Regions from separate parts of the Homo sapiens genome. Here region 1 is linked to region 2. The links are contacts of gene promoters, found by promoter capture Hi-C in human tissues and cell types (Jung and others, 2019). All regions are on one chromosome and are shown on one strand. Each heading gives the region's core, a stretch centred on a gene start or on the middle of the fragment in contact. The rest is flanking DNA. Distances are from core to core; before and after follow the strand shown. Region 1 has its middle 24 kb from the start of QSER1. Region 2 holds the start of TCP11L1 (t-complex 11 like 1).

The links. The method cuts DNA at HindIII sites, captures the fragments that hold promoters and counts their contacts. A contact is called where the count stands out against the background at its distance.
Region 1: a fragment that was not itself captured here is called in contact with the fragment with the promoter of TCP11L1 in region 2 in 1 of the 25 tissues and cell types used here (H1 embryonic stem cells).

The regions. Positions count from the first base shown.
Region 1 is chr11:32,866,359-32,871,173 of GRCh38, forward strand. No RefSeq gene overlaps it. Among named protein-coding and RNA genes, the nearest start is that of QSER1, 24 kb to the right of the region's middle. The HindIII fragment of the contact is 7,091 bases long and covers 1-4,815 here.
Region 2 is chr11:33,037,545-33,042,812 of GRCh38, forward strand. It overlaps TCP11L1 (t-complex 11 like 1), which reads left to right and starts at 2,028. Exons shown (of 10, transcript NM_018393.4): 1 at 2,028-2,248. RefSeq lists enhancers at 1,431-1,978, 1,699-2,048, 2,529-2,848 and a silencer at 2,029-2,428. The HindIII fragment of the contact is 11,210 bases long and covers 1-5,268 here.

The DNA.
Region 1 (4,815 bases), core at 1,088-3,587, 170 kb before region 2:
ATTTGCAGCCAAATTCTACCAGATGTATAAAGAAAAGCTGGTACCACTCCTACTAAAACTATTCCAAAAAATTGAAAAGGAGGGACTCCTCCCCAATTCATTCTATGTGGCCAGCATGATCCTGATACCAAAACCTGGCAGAGAAACACATAAATAAGAAAATTTCAGGCCAATATCCTTGATGAACATTGATTCAAAAATCCTCAACAAAATACTTGCAAGCCAAATCCAGCAGCACATCAAAAAGCTAATCCATTATGATCTAGTAGGCTTCATCCTCAGGAGGCAAATTTGGTTCAACATACACAAATCAATAAATGTGATTTAGCACATAAACAGAACTAAAGTAAAAAACCACATGATTATCTCAATAGATGTAGAAAAAGCTTTTGATAACATTCAACATCCATTCATGTTAAAAACTCTCAATGAACTACGTATTGAAGGAACATACCTCAAAATAATAAAAGCCATCTATGACAAACCCACAGCTGACATTATACCAAATGGGCAAAAGCTGGAAGTATTCCCCTTGAAAACTGGCACAAGACAAGCATTCCTCTCTCTTACTACTTCTATTCAACATAGTACTGAAAGTCCTAGCCAGCGCAATCAGGCAAGAGAAAGAAATAAAGGGCATCCAAGTAGGAAAAGAGGAAGTTAAACTATCCCTGTTTGTAGATAACATGATTCTATATGCAGAAAGCCCCATAGTCTCGGCCCAAAAGCTCCTTCAGCTGATAAACAAACAACTTCAGCAAAGTTTCAGGATACAAAATCAATGTATAAAAATCACTGGCATTCCTATACACCACCAACAGCCAAGCTGAGAACCAAATTGAGGAAGGCAATCCCATTCACAATTGCCACAAAATGAATAAAATACATAGGAATACAGCTATCCAAGGAGGTGAATGATCTGTACAATGACAATTGCAAAACATGGCTCAAAGAAATCGAAGAAGACACAAACAAATGGAAAACATCCCATGCTCATGGACAGGAAGATTCAATATCACTAAAATGGCCATACTCCCCAAAGCAATTTACAGATTCAATGCTGTTCCTATCAAACTTCCAATGACATTATTCACAGAATTAGAAAAAAACTATTTTAAAATTCATACAGAACAAAAAAAGAGCCCAAATAGCCAAAGCAATCCTAAGCAAAAAGAACAAAGCTGGAGGCATCATGTTACCCAACTTCAACCTATACTACAGGGCTACAGTAACCAAAACAGCATGGTACTGGTACAAAAGCAGACACATAGACCCAGGGAACAGAATAGAGAGTTCAGAAGCAAGGCTGCACGCTTATGACCACAAGGTCTTTGACAAAGCTGACAAAAACAAGAAATGGGAAAAAGATTCTCTATTCAATAAATGGTGCTAGGATAACTGGTTAGCTATATGCTGAAGTTTGAAGCTGGACTCCTTCCTTACACCATATACAAAAATCAACTCAAGATGGATTAAAGACTTAAATGTAAAACCCAAAACTATAAAAACCCTGGAAGGCAACCTAGGTGATACCATCCTGGACATAGGAATGGGAAAAGAGTTCATGACAAAGACACCAAAAGCAATCACAACAAAACCAAAAATTGACAAATGGGATCTAATTAAATTTAAGAGCTTCTGCACAGCAAAAGAAACTATCAACAGAGTAAACAGAGGACCTACAGAATGGGAGAAAATACTTGCAAACTATGCATCTGACAAATGTCTAATATCCAGCATCTATAAGGAACTTAAATTTACAATAGAAAAACAATCAGGCTGGGCGCAGTGGCTCACGCTTGTAATCCCAGCACTTTGGGAGGCCGAGGTGGGTGGATCACAAGGTCAGGAATTCGAGACCAGCCTGGCCAATATGGTGGAACCCTGTCTCTACTAAAAATACAAAAAGTAGCTGGGCATGGTGGCATGCACCTGTAGTCCCTGCTACTCGGGAGGCTGAGGTGGAAGAATAGCTTGAACCTGGAAGGCGGAGGTTGCAGTGAGCCGAGATTGCACCACTGCACTCCAGCCTGGGTGACAGAGCAAGACTTCATCTCAAAAAAAAAAAAAAAAAAAAAGAAAAGAGAAAAGAAAAATAATCCCATTAAAAGTGGGCAAAGGACATGAACAGACACTTTTCAAAAGAAGACATACATGTGGCCAACAAGCATATAAGAAAAAAAATATATCACTGAACATTAGAGAAATGCAAATCAAAACCGCAATGAGATACCATCTCGCACAGTCAGAATGGCTATTATTAAAAAGTCAAAAAATAACAGATGCTGGTGAGGTTGCAAAGAAAAGGGAACACTTATACACTGTTGGTGAAAATGTCAATTAGATCAACCATTGTGGAAAACAGTATGGCGATTCCTCAAAGAACTAAAAACAGAACTATTTAACCCAGCAATCTCATTCCCGGGTATATACACCCAGAGGAATATAAATCATTCTAACACAAAGACACATGCACACGAATGTTCACTGCAGCACTATTCACAAAAGTAAAGACATGGAATCAACCTAAATGCCCATCAATGATAGACTGGATGAAGAAAATGTGGTACATATACACCATGGAATACTATGCAGCCATGAAAAAGAACAAGATCATGTCTTTTGCAGGAACATGGATAGAGCTGGAGGTTATTATCCTTAGCACACTAACGCAGGAAGAGAAAACCAAATCCCACATGTTCTCACTTATAAGTGGAAGCTAAATAACTCATGAACGCAAAGAAGGGAACAACAGACACTAGGGTCTACTTGAGGGTGGAGGGTGGGAAGAAGGAAGAAGCAGAAAAAATAACTATTGTGTACTAGGCTTAATACCTGGGTGATGAAATAATCTGTACAACAAACCCCCATGACACAAGTGTACCTATATAACAAGCCTTCACATGTACCTCTGAACCTAAAAGTAAAACAATAGAGTAAAAAATAAAATAAAGTGAAAATAAAATAAAATAATGTGAGTAGAAATAAAGAACTACTTGTGATAAAATAATCCATCAATGTATGGCTCAAAATTAAAGCTTGTTTTAATATAATTTTAATGTAAGCTATGTCTCAAGATAAACTAACTGAAATTCCTTTTTTTTTTTTTTTTTCAGACGGAGTTTCACTCTTATTGCCCAGGCTGGAGTGTAATGGTGTATTCTCCGCTCACTGCAACCTCCGCCTTCCCGGTTCAAACAATTCTCCTGCCTCAGCCTCTGGAGTAGCTGGGATTACAGGCGCGAGCCACCACACCCGGCTAATTTTTGTATTTTTAGCAGAGACGGTGTTTCACCATGTTGGCCAGGCTGGTCTCAGACTCCTGACCTCAGGTGATCCGCCTGTCTTGGCCTCTCAAAGTGCTGGGATTACAGGTGTGAGCCACTGCGCCCGGCCTGAAATTCTTTTAAAAAATAATAATTAAGGCCAGGCACAGTGGCTCATGCCTGTAATCCCAGCACTTTGGGAGGCTAAGGCAGGCAGATCATGAGGTCAGGAGTTCGAGACCAGCCTGACCAACATGGTGAAACCCCATCTCTACTAAAAATACAAAAATTAGCCAGGCATCGTGGTGCGCACCTGTAATCCCAGCTACTCGGGAGGCTGAGGCAGGAGAATTGCTTGAACCCGGGAGGTAGAGGTTACAGTGAGCTGAGATTGCCCCACTGCACTCTAGCCTGGGCAACACAGCGAGACTACATCTCAAAAAATAAAAATAAAATAAAATTTAAAAATAATAATTAGGCCGGGCGCGGTGGCTCATGCCTGTAATCCCAGCACTTTGGCAGGCCGAGGCAGGTGGATCACCAGAGGACAAGAGTTCAAGACCAGCCTGGCCAACATGGTGAAACCCCGTCTTTACTAAAAATACAAAAATTTGCTAGGTGTGGTAGCGCCTGCCTGTAATCCCAGCTACTCAGGAAGCTGAGACAGGAGAATCACTTGAACCCGGGAGGCGGAGGTTGCATTGAGCCAAGATCGCACCACTGCACTCCAGCCTGGGTGACAGAGCGAGACTCCATCTCAAAAAAAAAAAAAAAAATAATAATAATAATAATAAACTAATAAACACATAGAAACCAAAACAAATGTAACACTCCCAAACTCATTCCTGAAAAGGGGCACTGCAGAAATGTTATCAAGAATCTTATCTTACACCAAATGATACACAAGCAACCCATGCTATGTCCAAATGACACAAAAGCTCAAATAGCATAGACAGAGGATTCCCCGTGTGTGCCCTGGTTTGACTTACCCAGTCTTGGGGCCCATCAACTCCCTTGGATACCACTTGCACCACCAAAGTGTTACAGGCTGCTGATTCCATGAAGGGGACAGAAGAGAGGGTCCCCAAGACAAAAGATTTCTCAGTTGCTGCTAGGACACTCCTGGAATCCCAGCCACAGAGGCAGCTAGCCATGAGCAGCAACTAGCACTCATAAGCGGTTGCTGCTCTGCCTGATAACATGAACAGGTAAGCCCTGGTGCACTGCTGCAGCCAATTGCTCCATCCATGGAAACCAGGCAGGCTAGACCACCAGAGGGCACACAGCCCCACATTGGGTGCCAAATTTTGTAACTGAACCTATGTTTGGCTGCTTGCTGCTCAAAAACCAGACACGAGAAATGAGGGTTGGTGGGAGGAAAAGCCAGATTTATTTGGAAAGCCAGCAAAACCAAGAAGATGGTGAATTCATGTTTAAGAAATCATTGTCTACTCAAGGTTGTGAAGATTTTTTTTTTTGAGACGGAGTCTCGCTCTGTCGCCCAGGCTGGAGTGCCGTGGCGCCATCTCGGCTCACTGCAACCTCCACC
Region 2 (5,268 bases), core at 778-3,277:
ATTTTGGTATTGTTGCAGTATCCTCTCCAGGTGGAACTTGAGTATATTCATTCACTTGCTCCTAACCAAGTGAAAATTGGTTATATTAACCTTTTTTTTTTTTTTTGAGATGTAGTCTCGCTGTCTCCCAGGCTGGAGTGCAGGGGTGCGATCTCCGCTCACTGCCACCTCTGCCTCCTGGGTTCAAGGGATTCTCCTGCCTCAGCCTCTCCAGTAGCTGGGATTACAAGCGCCTGCCACCATGCCCAGCTAATTTTTGTATTTTTAGTAGAGACGGGGTTTTGCCATGTTGGCCAGGCTGGTCTTGAACCCCTGACCTCAGGTGATCCGCCCGCCTCGACCTCCCAAAGAGCTAGGATTACAGGCGTGAGCCATTGCACCCAGCCATATTAATCTTTTAAGGAAGGTTCTAGCCTGCTTCCCCAGGGAGCTTTTAAAACTTGTCTGGCATCACCCTCCCCGGAGTTTTGGATGATACTTTTCCAACCCCTGCCCCTGAGATTCCAAGTTGTATTTGTAGTCAGGGCTGAAAAACACTAGAGACTTAATGGTACGAGTTTAGACTCAGAAGAACTGCATGTTTTCTTTGCAGATCTTTTTTTTTTTTTTCAGACGGAATCTCACTCTGTCACCCAGGCTGCAGTGCAGTGGTGCGATCCCGGCTCACTGCAACCTCTGCTTCCCGGATTCAAGCAATTCTCCTGCCTCAGCCTCCCAAGTAGCTGGGATTACAGGCATATGCCACCATGCCCGGCTAATTTTTTTGTATTTTTAGTAGAAACGAGGTTTCACCATATTGGCCAGGCTGGTCTCGAACTCCTGACCTTGTGATCCACCCACCTCCGACCTCCCAAAGAGCTAGGATTACAGGTGTGAGCCACCGCGCCCAGCCATTCTTTGTAGATCTTAACAGTTCCATTTAGTTGAGTATCTTAAGGGTTTTTGGTGTTTTTTCCTCCAAAAAGTGAATCTTCACCAGAGAACTTCTGTTTTTGTCTTTTTTTTTTTTTTTTTAAAGCAAAGACTTTAATGTGCAAGTTAGTAAATGGTTTGAGGGTCTGGTATTGCACTCGGCCTTCAATACGTTAGCAATAACTACCCACATGTGATCTATTTAGAAGCAGTGTTTGAAAGCACCAATGTCACCCCATCTGCTTTTTTGTAGTTTTTTTTTGTTTGTTTGTTTTTGAGACAGAGTCTCGGTCTGTCTCCAGGCCGCAGTGCAGTGGCGCGATCTCGCCTCACTGCAACCTCCGCCTCCCAGATTCAAGCGATTCTCCTGCCTCAGCCTCCCGAGTAGCTGGGACTACAGGCGCGCGCCACCACACCCAGCTAATTTTCGTATTTTTAGTAAAGACGAGGTTTCACCATGTTGGCCAGGATGGTCTCGATCTCTTGACCTCGTGATCCGCCCGCCTCGGCCTCTCAAAGTGCTGGGATTACAGGCGTGAGCTGCTGCGCCCGGACTAACTTTTTTTTAAAGCTGAGGAAATGAGAGAAGGGGAATAAACTTTGTGTAGCTACAAACAGGATGGCAAAATTAAATTTCAAAGAACGGGCGGGGAAGGTTTCAGATGCAATGGCTTCTTATTCCTTCTTTTGACTGACCCGCGCCTTCTCCGCCTCCCTTTCTCCTCGCGTCACCCGCACCAGCGGCTGGGATGCGGCGCGCGTTCCGTCTTTCCGTATGGAAACATGGCGCCTAGGGGCGGGCCATCCCCAGCTTCGAGCCACCGCCAGCTGAGACTCATCGGCGGGCACTCGGCCATGCCTCTCGCGTTTCCGTACGAAAACATGGCGCCTCACTGCGTGCGGCGGGCGACTCTTGGCTGGGAGCCACTGGCCACGGAGCCCCCTGAGCGGTCATCGGCCATGTTTTCCACCTCTCCCTGAGGAAACACGGCGCCGCCCAGCTGCGAGTCACCGCTTACTGAACCCCTTCGGCAAGCAGGGGAAAGACCCTCCCGCCTTTCCGTACGAAGACATGGCGCTGCCCTATATTGGGCTGGCGCCTCCCGGCCAAGAGCAGTCTCCTCCTTCCTGATGCTGAGAAGCGGCCGCTCTGACCGCTGCCCACCCGAGTCGGGCTGGGAGGACCGCCCGCCGCGTGGCGAGGGATGCGGCCTCGGAGGGGCAGAGGCTGAACCGCCCCTGCCTGCCGCGCATCCCTCCGGCTTCCGCCGCGGCGCCAGCCCGCGCCTGATTCGCGGCGGGAGCGGCAGGAGGGAGAACGCCGACTCCGTGGCAGGTGAGAGCGGGAGCTGGGGCGGAGGCTGGCGGGGCCCGTCCGGGAGGCGCGCGGTCCAAGTCGCAGGCATCTCTTCGCCTCTTCCCGTCGGATCCCATCCCGGGATGTCGGGGGCAGGCGAGGAAGAGGCGGGGTCCGCGGGCGGGTGGAGCTCACCCCTCGAGGCTGTCCTCTCGGCGCGCCCGCGTCCTCCCCTACTCCCGGCCCTGCCACTCCCTCGCTGGCCTGAACAGCTGTTTACAACGGAATCCGGACGCCGGGCGCGAGTGGAGCTCAGTGCCAGAGGAGGGGATTCCCGGCGCCGGGGGACAGAGCCCCTTTTTTCTTTTGCCGAAAGACCCTTTCTGCTGGGGAGCCTCTTGTGTCCAGCCTAGGCCCGCGTGCAGCGCCGACGGATGACCGTCTTCTTGGCAAGTGCGAGGATCCTCCTCCCCTCGGCTCTCTTTTTAGACACAGTGGGGGTTGAATGGATGCGCGCGATATAAGCAAATTAAATGGTTCGTGGCCGCATCCTAGAGCCCTTTAATTAGAGTTACCATTTGTAGAAGGCCTGCCGTGCACAATCCCTCGTTTCATCTCCCCCCAAACCGAGCAGGTAGGTAGCTGTGTTTTACAGAGGAGGACACTGAAGTTACACAGCTAGTAAAGAGCCAGAATTGGGGCCCAGGTATGTCTGAAACCAACGCCCAGCCTCCCAGATACAGTGACATCACAGAGATGACGTAGGGATTCATCTCTATCAACAGATACTTGTGGGTGTCTATTTGGGGGATATACAGATGGAGCATAAGTGGGGAATATGACTGGTCCTGGCTCTTAAGAAGTTCGAAATCTAGGTGGGGAATTTTAAAATAAAAACTAGCACTTTTACCATCTGGCCCCAACGCATCTTTCCATCATCTCTAGCCACTTCCTTTTCTCATTTTCTTGTGCCTTGGCTTCTGCCCTCTGAGTGAAATGCCCTCCTTTTCACCTCCTCTCCCCCTCCTCTCCCCCTCCAGACATGTTTTAACTAGGTGAAATCCTACTCCTTTTAAAGATCAGTTCAAATGTCATCTTTTCTGGGAAGGTTTTCTCAATCTCCTCCCAGGCAGAGTTAGTTTCTTCCTCTGCTATATTCCCTGGGCAATTTCATAATGCCACTTAAGTTTCATTATGGCTCCTTGTAAGCCTGTCTGCCTCCCCCTCTAGACTATGTATTTGCATCTTTCTATTTAAATAAGCACGCTTTGAATTGAATTTAAGGCAGTGACAAATGCCAAATGTCAACTAGCCAGCCCTGCAGGAGTTGAGAAAGGTGCAATCACTGGTGAGGTCCGGGAAGTGTCCTGGGAAGAGACAGGACTTGAACTCAATCTTAAGGATGGGGTTAGTTTACTAAGCTGAGCATTAGAGACCTAGAAATCCTCCCTTTCCTCCTCACTGCACAGAATGAATTACTTCATCCCTCCTGGGCTCCTTCTCAGCATGTGAAGATAATAAAATTAGCAGCGTTTTGTTTGTCGTTTCTCACAGAATATGCTGGTAATGTTATCCTTTGGATCTTGGAGCATTTCCTGACCCTAATAGGATTTAGGACACAGAGGAGATGGGTGTCTCCAGTGGGGTGTTGGAAGCTAAGATGGGTCTCGAAAGGGAAAATACATGAAAACAACTTTCATATTAATACAGGCCTGGGCCAGGTGCAGTGGCTCACGCCTATAATCCCAGCACTTTGGGAGGCTGAGGCGGGCGGATCACTAGAGGTCAGGAGTTCGAGACAAGCCTGGCCAACATAGTGAAACCCCATCTCTACTAAAAATACGAAAATTAGCGAGGCGTGGTGGTGGGCGCCTATAATCCCAGCTACTGGGGAGGCTGAGGCAGAAGAATCCCTTGAACCTGGGAGGCAGAGGTTGCAGTGAGCTGAGCCGAGATGGTGCCACTGCACTTCAATCTGGGGAACAGTGCAAGAGTCTGTCCCCAAAAAAAAAACAAAAAAACAGGCCTGAATATTTCAATCCCAGTAACTTCATTCTATTTAATGGAGTTCTCTGAAATTTCACATAATTCTATCAGGTGATTCTTCACCTCTCTCTAATATGCAGAACACAGTCTGCCAAACTCCCTAAATCAGTTGACATTTCTTTTGATCACCTGATTACCTTCCATGTGTGTAAGAAAGTCTAATTAGTGTTTATGAAAATGTTTTGTGATCTTCAAGTGCTGATGTTACAAATGTTAATTATTTTCAGCAAATGCAGAAACATTGTGTCTTCTCTCCCAGAAACACCCTAGGAAAAGGGAGAGTGGAGGAATTGACTAAAACTTTTACTGTAATTAAAACAGGGTTTTTTTGTTTGTTTGTTTGTTTGTTTAGACAGAGTCTCAGTCTGTTGCCCAGGCTGGAGTGCAGTGGTGCGATCTCGGCTCACTGCAAGCTCTGCCTCCCGGGTTCATGCCATTCTCCTGCTTCAGCCTCCTGAGTATTTGGGACTACAGGCACCGCCACCATGCCAGGCCAATTTTTTAATATTTTTAGTGGAGACGGGGTTTCAGCGTGTTAGCCAGGATGGTCTCGATCTCTTGACCTCATGATCCGCCTGTTTTAGGCCTGTTTTAGGCTGGGCACGGTGGCTCATGCCTGTAATCCCAGCACTTTGGGAGGCCCAGGCAGACCTTTTATTAACTGCTCCAAAGCACAGTGTCAAGTGTTATTGCTATTCTGATCAGCAACTAATAAAAAGCCCACCCAACTGCATACATTATGGTTGTTTGCAGCTTCTTACTCACAATCTTTTTCCTAATTACTGGCAAGAAGGTAATAAAAATATTTGCCCCACACATTCCTCTTAAACATTTCATAAGATTCTGTTTTCTGTAGGGCGCAGTGGCTCATGGCTGTAATCCCAGTACTTTGGGAGACCGAGGCAGGTGGATCACCTGAGGTCAGGAGTTCGAGACCAGCCTGACCAACATGGTGAAACCCCGTCTCTACTAAAAATACAAAATTAGGCCAGGCGCAGTGGCTCACGCCTGTA